3 separate regions of the Homo sapiens genome follow, and regions 1 and 2 are each linked to region 3. The links are contacts of gene promoters, found by promoter capture Hi-C in blood cells and fetal thymus (Javierre and others, 2016). All regions are on one chromosome and are shown on one strand. The core of a region is centred on a gene start or on the middle of the fragment in contact, and the rest is flanking DNA. Distances in the headings are between cores, read along the strand shown.

Region 1 (2,998 bases), core at 364-2,863, 490 kb after region 3:
CTTTTCTTTATCAAAGTCAGTTTTTCCTGCTTTCCACCAAGAGCCCTAACTGGCACATAGGTTTTAACATGAGTGAGCTATCTAGGGTTACAGAAAATGTCACCACTCCCTAAATAGCTACATAGTCTCTGAGGGTGGGGATGGTGTTTCTTATTCATGTATACTTAGTGCCTGAAACAAACTCCTGGAACATCTATAACTTATTTTTTCCAGATTTCCATGCCAACCTTCTGGCTTCTCTCAATTAAATGTGATACCTATCTCCCACCTGCACCCTACCTTCATGCTTCGACTTCCCTGAATTCAGCAATTTTTAAACTGAGAAGTTTAAGAACCCAGACTGTTTCTCAGCAAATATTTGTTAATCAAAATTATTCTGTGGGGGCCATATTAAACTTATGGCCTTGTATTAATAAAATATGTACCAACTAATTGAAAGAAAGTTGTCCCAGAAGAAAAACATGTGTCAAAGTTCTCTTCACCTAGGATGGAAATCTATATAGAATGGTAAATATTGACCTAGACAAAGAAAATTTAGTCTTTCTTAAATCTAAGTTAGCTTAAAATAAAGTAAGAGGATTATTCTAAACTCATCCTGGGTATTGTCCACTACCAAAACAGCTTGAACAAGATTTAGGAATAAATTGTTTCTTTAAGAGAATAAATTATTTACCTGCAAACTAAAAGTAAATATTCAGATGCAACATAAAGAAAAAAACAAAATTTCTCAACACCCAAAATAAGGAAAATAATTCATCAGTACCATCCTGGAGAACTGAAAACAATTTTGCAACATTTATTGGGGGGTGGGGATGGGATTTTTTTTTGTGGCCATTATATTCATCATAGAAAAAAATGAAAAATATAGTAAAATACTAAGGACATAATCATCCATGATTTGTAAATGGTTAAGACTCTCTTTCTACTGTAGGCAGCCGTAAAACCCAATTCAAATTGCTTTAGCATAAAGGGAATCTCTTGGCTCCTAAAACTGAAAAGAGCAGGGTTTGAACTAATTTCAGGTGCCACTTGATCTGAGGTCAAATGGTGTCACCAGCTCCAGATTTCTATCTTGCCTCCTCTGACTCTGCTGTCCATGAGGCTCATTCCATTCCCAGTCAGACTGTCTCTTCAGGGTGGCTGGGCTCAGGACACATTAACCCAAAATATGGCACATTGGCATTTGAGAAAACAGCAGAAGCAGAAAGGTTTCTCTCATCTTCCCCTTGTTCTTCTCCTGTGAAGCAGATCATAAGACCCCCATTCTAGGGGTGCCCTCCCTATACCTGGAGGAAAGACACATCCTCATCTCTGAAGACATAAGGACACAGAGAAGAATCTGAGTAAGCAGGCCTTGCTAAGTCCCCTCAGTTTATTACCATTAGATCACATTTCCTTGGTCCACTCATACTTTTCACCACTGTGCACCTCTTCATTCAACCTAAGCATAAAAATACACAGGTTTTCCTAACTCTTTGAGTCTTAATTTCTAAAGGCTCTCATAAAGCTTTTATTAAATAAATTTCTATGCTTTTCTCTTGTTAATCTTTTATATAGGTGCCTCATCCATGAACCTACTAATGGGTGAGGAAAGAAATCTTTTCTCCCCGACAGAGACTGCAGTGTGACTGTACTGCAAAAATGCCAGTACTGTCTTACCTCCAACTCCACATCCCATGGGAAAGGCTCTGCAGCCTTGATGGCTGAAACCAAAGCTTTGGCAATGAGATGTGTTGGTTCAGGGCCTGGCCCTGAGTCCTCCCCTAGCTCAGTGTGCCAACAGACTGGGGGAACCAGGGGTGGAACCCACTTCCCAGACCACAAGGGCTACAAGTAGTGGAGACCTTGATACCATTAGTGAGACTGGGGGCTAAAGCCTGAAGGAGAAAGAATGGGGATGGGAGCCAAACCACAAATGTCTGCTACCATACCACCATCACTGGAGGATAACAACCATTGACATGTTGTTATATGTATGTGTGTAAGAAATTAGAGCAGTTATGTGCCCACCAAAAATGTACAACAATGGCATATCAATTTAAGAATGTTAGAAAGAAATTAGAGCATTTAAAAATGGATGTATAGTCTTCTCCTTTTACTTTATAATGTACAAAAGGCATCATTATGTGAGAAGAAAGTACCTTTAATTTGACAATTAGCACATAGTCCAAATATCATAGATTCAGTAGAGCTAAGTTAAAATTTAAAATCAAGGTCAGGAACATGTGAAAGACCTAGGGAAAAAAAAGTTGGAAAAAGAATTCAAGTTCATGAATTTTGCATCTGAGAGTCAGAGCTACTAATCTATCAAATACTTTGCTTATAGCATCGGAGCAAACTGTTCACGAGTAATTTTAACAAGTTTTTCTTAATTCATTCAAGGGGTAAGTATAATGAAAACTAAAGTAGGGTTACAGACAGGCCAGAATCGAATGACAGAATAAGCATGATGAGTTATCTGTATTCATTTTACATGACTGATACATTGAAAATTTTCCTCAGTCAAAAACAACTTCCATATGATATCATGCTGGTCAGGGATGGTAGCAACTGATACTAAGTATTGCAGGAAAAGAGTTGGTTAGAAAAGTCAGTTTCACATTAAAATGGCAATGTAGCAAACATACATGCATCTGGTTAAGATTTATTAAGAATAAAACATCTAGCAGAAGAGGAAGTTTCCACCAATGCTATTAACCATGCATATTTGATTTCATCTTCAATGCCATGACTGTCACACTGCATTTATTACTTAGACGATCTCATTACTTTTCCTATACTTCCTTCCTTTCATTGAATTTTGTGATCTTATAACCCATGACATGTAGCACTCACACCATACTACAGTGATATGTGCTAGATGTATACGTATGACAAAGTTCTGTGATCAAAGAACAACAAGATCTGTCATCCTCCAGATACTGCAGTCAGGGTCAGTTCTCAATTATTTCTCCTTGGGAACAGGGTTATGTTTACTATTGCTATTACTAAATATTTA
Region 2 (2,847 bases), core at 289-2,788, 380 kb after region 3:
ATATTTTCCTTCAGACCAAGGGGGCATGGAATTGGTTGTTGGAAGGAGAAGGATTTGGATGAGATCACAAAAACTAAAGCTCCTGGTTCTTTGAATGATGCTCTCCCAGGAATCTGGGTGGAAAGAAGCCAAGGCTCAAATTCTTTGTCTTTTCAGCAATGAATAGGAAAAATTCAACTTTTGAGTGTTATCTCAGCAGTTACTTTCACTCAGTTTTGCCCCTTCGGCCCTAAAATGAATGAGACGTTTTCAAAGCAGATGGCAGTGAGTCAAGCAGAAACGTGGAATATAAGTACATCCCCACTTCCACGAAGTCCCGAAGCTTGATTACAGCACTCTCATGGGCCATGTAAACAGGGGACCAGAAACTGAGCAGAAGACAGATTTAAGCCGGGGCGGGGGGCGGGGGGGAGGGAATTGTAAGACTAGGACAGGGTGAGCGCCACATGTGGCTTTAATATCCAACAGCTGCTAGAGATCATCACCCCGCTGCTCTCTCTGTACCCCTACACCAGAATCCTCTGTCTCAAAGACCATAACTAAAGCGGCCACTGCCATGTTATCTGAGTAACGAACTCAAGCTCGAGCACATTCAAGGATTTTTTTTAACTTAGTGTACCTGGATGTAGCCGACTGGACCTTTAATCACAAAACCAAAGCTTTAAAACAAAGTCTCCAGGAAAGAACAAGAAGGAAAATCAATTACACAGTGCACTTGAGCAGACTGGGGAGGCGGGTAAAAGAAAAGTGAGGGAAGATAGGGCAGCCGGGATTCCCTGGACTGGAGCTCTCTTCTCTAGAGCTAACTTTTCAGACCTGGAGGTCTCCAAGGCCCCCGCAACTCAGTGAGTCTCGGGGCACCAACAAATCCCCGCGGGGGTCACCGCGCCCGCGAACGCAGAGTCCACACGTGGATTCCCGCGCCTGTGATGCCCCGACCCGTCCCGGGTCCCCGCACAGACAATGCCGCGCGTCCTTCCCGCAGCCACTCCGGGACCCGCGCCCCGCGCCGCCCGGACGTCCCCCTGCGTCTGCCGGGGACACTCACCGACACCAGGAACTCCAGCGTGCCCACATAGTCCCGCTCGGTCTTCTGGAGCTCGCTGAGCACGCACACGCGCAGGCGAAGCTGCTTCTCCAGGTCCTTGGCGCTCTCGGCGCGGCTGTCTCCGCGGCTGTCCTCGCTCATGGTCGGCGGCGGTGCGCAGCGCGGCGCTGCCCGCCGTGCTGAGCGCTGACCCGCGCGCCCGCTGCTGCCCGGCCCCCGGCGGCGAGAATGGAAAGTTGCCGCCTCCGCCAACTCCGAGGAGAGACAGAAGACTTTACATGCTGGGGAGAGGCTGGGCGCAGGGAGAGGAGGGGATCGGGCTGAAATCCCGGCGCGGGGGGCGCGGGGCTCTGCAGAGGAAACTCCTGGGAGTGGGGGCTCCGGCCAGGCCCTGCGCGCCCGGCCCCGCTGCTCTGGCCTCACACGGCCGGGGCTGGAGGGGAAGCGGCTTCGGCAGCCACAGCAGTGACTTGGACATTAATCAAAAGCTTTGTATCCATGTGACTCCGACCCTTTACCCTTCGCCAAATCTCAGGAAAAAGGAAACACAACCCTGGGGAAGTACTGCGTACTGGCTAATCACACACACGCGCGCGCGCGCACACACACACACACACGCACACACACACACACACACACACACAGCAGCACTTGATATGGAACTCACAGGAGGTTCCCAATCCCAGGGACACACACTCCAAGGCGCAGCTCGAGGGTTACTCCTAAGCCTCCGCTATTGTTTAACTTTAATGTGTTTCGTACAAATCCTGAAAGCAAAGAAACAAGTCCCCACGGTTACATAACTGGATGGGAACAAAAACAACCACGGTATTGACCCTCCCTCTTTGAAAAGAAACACATTGATTTTTTGTTTCATTCAGGCACAAAACAGGTTTGCTTTTAAAACCCTCCAACTGAGAATAGTTCACAGGGCAGACACCCTCCAGTCTGAGCTTGGAAAGTCAATTAGCATAATAAATGAAGACACTATGGGAAAATGACAGCCTCTGCCCATGCAATAAACCCCAGATAAAATAAGCATCACCCTTGTACTGTGCTGTTTTCCATGTCTACAACTTTTTTCAACATCAAGATAGTATGTAAATCCATTGAGAGGCGAGGGTATTTGTGCCAGTTTTGTTTCTAAGAGCTGCTGTGATTTAAGACGGTGTCACTAATTGAAAAGATAAAGCTGTTGTTGAATGCTCATCAGAAGATAGAAAGCTAGATAGATAACGGAAATAATCTTAGATTTTTGAAGATAGACACACAGAACATTCTTGATTTTAAAGTTAAAGTTTATTGCCTTTTCTCACTTGGAAACTAAGCCTTAAATATTTCCAATACATTTAACAAACAAAACAATTTATATATTTTTTTGAATTGGTATTATACACATATATTTTCCACAGATCAACTTCAGTCTAAAACTAATGGCATTTAAATAAACTGAAGAGTGAATAGAGTTGTTGCAAGAAAGTGGTATGTTAATTTGTTGCAGTCACTGAAAGCATTAGCAAAACTCTAAAACATAAAGATGCTTTTCACTATATTTACATTAAAATAATTACCTATTGGTTTTCCAGATGATGTCTTTCCAGAGCATAGTGTGACCATTCCCCTCTGTAACCACACAAAGAAGGATTGTACTTTCTTTGTATATTAAAGATAAAATTTTCGAATGATGTACACAAAGCTGATGGGCAAGATGTGATTTTCCTCTTTCTTTTACAAATGACTATTTAGAGGTAGCCAAGAGCAAAGGGCAAACAACATAGATGGCTTCACACCCTGTGGCA
Region 3 (2,700 bases), core at 115-2,614:
GGTCAGTGCCCCCTGAACTGGATGGGACCAAGGGAGTCCCTCCGCAAGGGCCTCCACTTCTGACTACGGTCCGCACGCCCCACCCCTGCTCAGCACCCTGGCAACCCGCGGGACGCTTTGCTGGTGCCAGGCTTCAATCTCTTGTTCTCATTTTCTCGTGTCCTCGCGCTCTTCCTTCTACTGTATTTTTGTCTTAAATTCTTTAATGGCGAGAGAGAGAAAAAAAAACAAAACCAGCTCAGAGCTATAGTCTTCTTCCACAAATACGTGTGTGCTTTTCAGAACCTTTCTCCGTCCCTTTCTCCTGCTAACACATGTGGGGTCTGCAGTGCAAAGGACTCTCCTTTCGTCCAGTGACCAAATGGCAGTCTCTCAGTTTGCCAATTTCATTCATCACGCCCGCACCGACTGAAGCCTACTCCTCACCAGTTCAGCTGTCTTCCAGTTAATTGTATTAACTGCTAAGCACCTCCTCCACCTTTTCGGGTTCTATTACCGCCCTCATTAAAAAAAAAAAAAAAAAAAAAAAAAAAAAGAAGGAAAGAAAAGAAAAGAAAAAAGAAAATCCAACACGAACACTCAAGATAGCGTGAATTCAAAAAAGAAAGTGTGCGTGTGCAACACAGTCTGAGTGTGTGCATCCGTATGCGTCGCCTGCCTCAGCCTGCCCGGGTCCTGAACATGTAGCTGAGAGGTGCAGGACAGTCAGAGGGCCAAAACTTCCCCTGCCAGGCTGAGGCTGGGCCCTCCCGAGCTCACCTGTCCGCGTTCAGGTAACTGGCTAAGTGCCCGCCCGGCCGCGTTCCAGGACACCTGGCCGGGACAGAGCGAATGCCAGTGAATCCCAGGGCGCCCTCTCCCGCGCGTTGGTTCTCTAGCCCTCCTTCCCTGGGAGGGGTGGGATTGGGAGTGTTCTGTTTTCATTACTGCACCCCTTCCCCTAAAGACAACGGGACTGCCCTCCTCCACAGCGCCTTACCTCAAACAGGGGACCGATCTTGTTCTTCTCCAGGTAAGCCTGGATCCGGGTTTGCGGATGAGACGCCATGGGGAACAGATGGGACCGCGAAGAGAGTGCAGGGAGAACGCGCGGCTGTGCGCCTCCGCTGGGGACAACCCTCCTTTTACCCGGACTGGGGCCGGGACAGGAGCTCCGGAGCCTCGGCTGCCCTGCGTGGCTGGCTCGGCCCCGGCCGCGGGCGTGGGTGGCAGCCCGGGGAGCCACGCGCGCGTGGGGCGCTGAGAGCCGGAAGCCTGGGCGCAGCGCCGCCAACTCAGACAACTCCGAGGCGAGGGGAGAACTCATTCATCGCGTTCTCCGCCTCGCGCCCACCCTCGCCGCTCTCCGCAGCGCCCGGCGCAGTGGGGAAATTCGAGGCAGAGGTTCCTTTCTCCTCTGGGCGGCAGCAGCAGGAATCAGGGGGCGGGAGGCGAGCTGTGTCGAGGGGCGCACGCGGGCGGACAGGGGCCGCGGGGCTCGAACTCGCCACCGGTGTGTGTGCGTGCGTGCGTGTGTGTGTGTGTCCGTGCGCGCGCGACTGTGTGTACCTCCTTTCCCCGGTGACGGAACAAACAGCCCGGGCTGCTCCCCGAGGCTGCTCGCCCTACCAGCCGCTCCCTAGCGACAGCGCCGCTTAAAAAGCCAATGGTGAAGGTGCTTCTTTCAAAGTGCACATAAATCTGGTGCTTGTTGGCTACTCCTTGGCAGCTACAAATGCAGTTCGAAAGGGGATCGTCCCCACCGCCCCTTCTGAGCCTCTCCTCAGCACCTTCTGCCCTGCCTACTCTAGCGCAGGGGTTGAGAAGGGCAGAGTTTTGAGAAGGTGCGTGGGTTTAAGGGTTTGCCGCGAAAAAGAAGTTGCCTTCCTTTTCAAAATCTGGTTTGGCCTGGAGCAAGTCGACGGGTGAACGCAGCCTGAGAACCCAGCTGAAAACTCTCAAAGTGCAGGAGCTCAAAGGCTGGAACCAGCCTTTCAGCATTTGACAGGGAGAAGAGAAATGAGCGAGCCAGCCCTCCCCTCCAAAGTTGGCCTTCCTAATCCACGCCTTGAGTCATGTCTGTATACCTATAACTGCATCTCAGACACCACACTATCCCACTTCATAATGTTTCCTCTAGATACTGCGTGAGCTGCTCAAATTTAGCCAATACCTTTCTTATTATGCAGGGATTTCCGAGTCGAAGGTTTGCAGATAGCCCAGGCTTCCTCACAGAGCTCTCTTTCTTGTGAAATACAATACTAAGGTCCCAATGACAATTTCCCTGGCTCCTAACCATGATGTGCTGCCAAAATTAGATTTATTTCTAATAAATATAAATTTTCAGAATGATGGAAACAGTTTTCCTAAAAGCTGACTGCAGCAGTATATATTTTTTTCTTTCTTTCTTCACTGTGTTCTGGATTTCTGTTACTCATAGTTTCTTTATTGGTGTTCATGTTTTCCTTCTGTATTTTAAATATGTGGAAACATGTAATAGATAAGTGTGGAATATCCCAGGAACTATTATTAATTTCATGCATTAAGACATAAGAAATCTGCTAGAATAGCTAGGAGCTTAACCATCCCTGATAACCTGAAATGGACTTGATCCAGAGTGGAAAGATGTCCACATTAATACTTTTACAATCGGACTCATATGATCTGCCTAGGGAGGGTTAAGTTAAATAGCAGTGAGGTGTCCAGGGTTGCCTCGTGCTT

What was found. Contacts are between HindIII fragments. The CHiCAGO score rates a contact against its expected background, and 5 or more counts as called.
Region 1: a fragment that was not itself captured here is called in contact with the fragment with the promoter of C8orf34 in region 3 in 1 of 17 cell types (M1 macrophages); the score reaches 5.2 in M1 macrophages.
Region 2: a contact is called between the fragment with the promoter of PREX2 here and the fragment with the promoter of C8orf34 in region 3, in 2 of 17 cell types (monocytes and M0 macrophages). The highest score is 5.1, in monocytes.

The regions. Positions count from the first base shown.
Region 1 is chr8:67,838,043-67,841,040 of GRCh38, reverse strand. No RefSeq gene overlaps it. Among named protein-coding and RNA genes, the nearest start is that of CPA6, 93 kb to the right of the region's middle. The HindIII fragment of the contact is 208 bases long and covers 1,510-1,717 here.
Region 2 is chr8:67,950,737-67,953,583 of GRCh38, reverse strand. PREX2 (phosphatidylinositol-3,4,5-trisphosphate dependent Rac exchange factor 2) reads right to left here and starts at 1,538. Exons shown (of 40, transcript NM_024870.4): 1 at 1,049-1,538. The coding sequence starts at 1,189. The HindIII fragment of the contact is 877 bases long and covers 662-1,538 here.
Region 3 is chr8:68,329,619-68,332,318 of GRCh38, reverse strand. C8orf34 (chromosome 8 open reading frame 34) reads right to left here and starts at 1,364. Exons shown (of 14, transcript NM_052958.4): 1 at 980-1,364. The coding sequence starts at 1,306. C8orf34-AS1 (C8orf34 antisense RNA 1) reads left to right here and starts at 828. Exons shown (of 3, transcript NR_038877.1): 1 at 828-1,012. The HindIII fragment of the contact is 3,988 bases long and covers 1-2,700 here.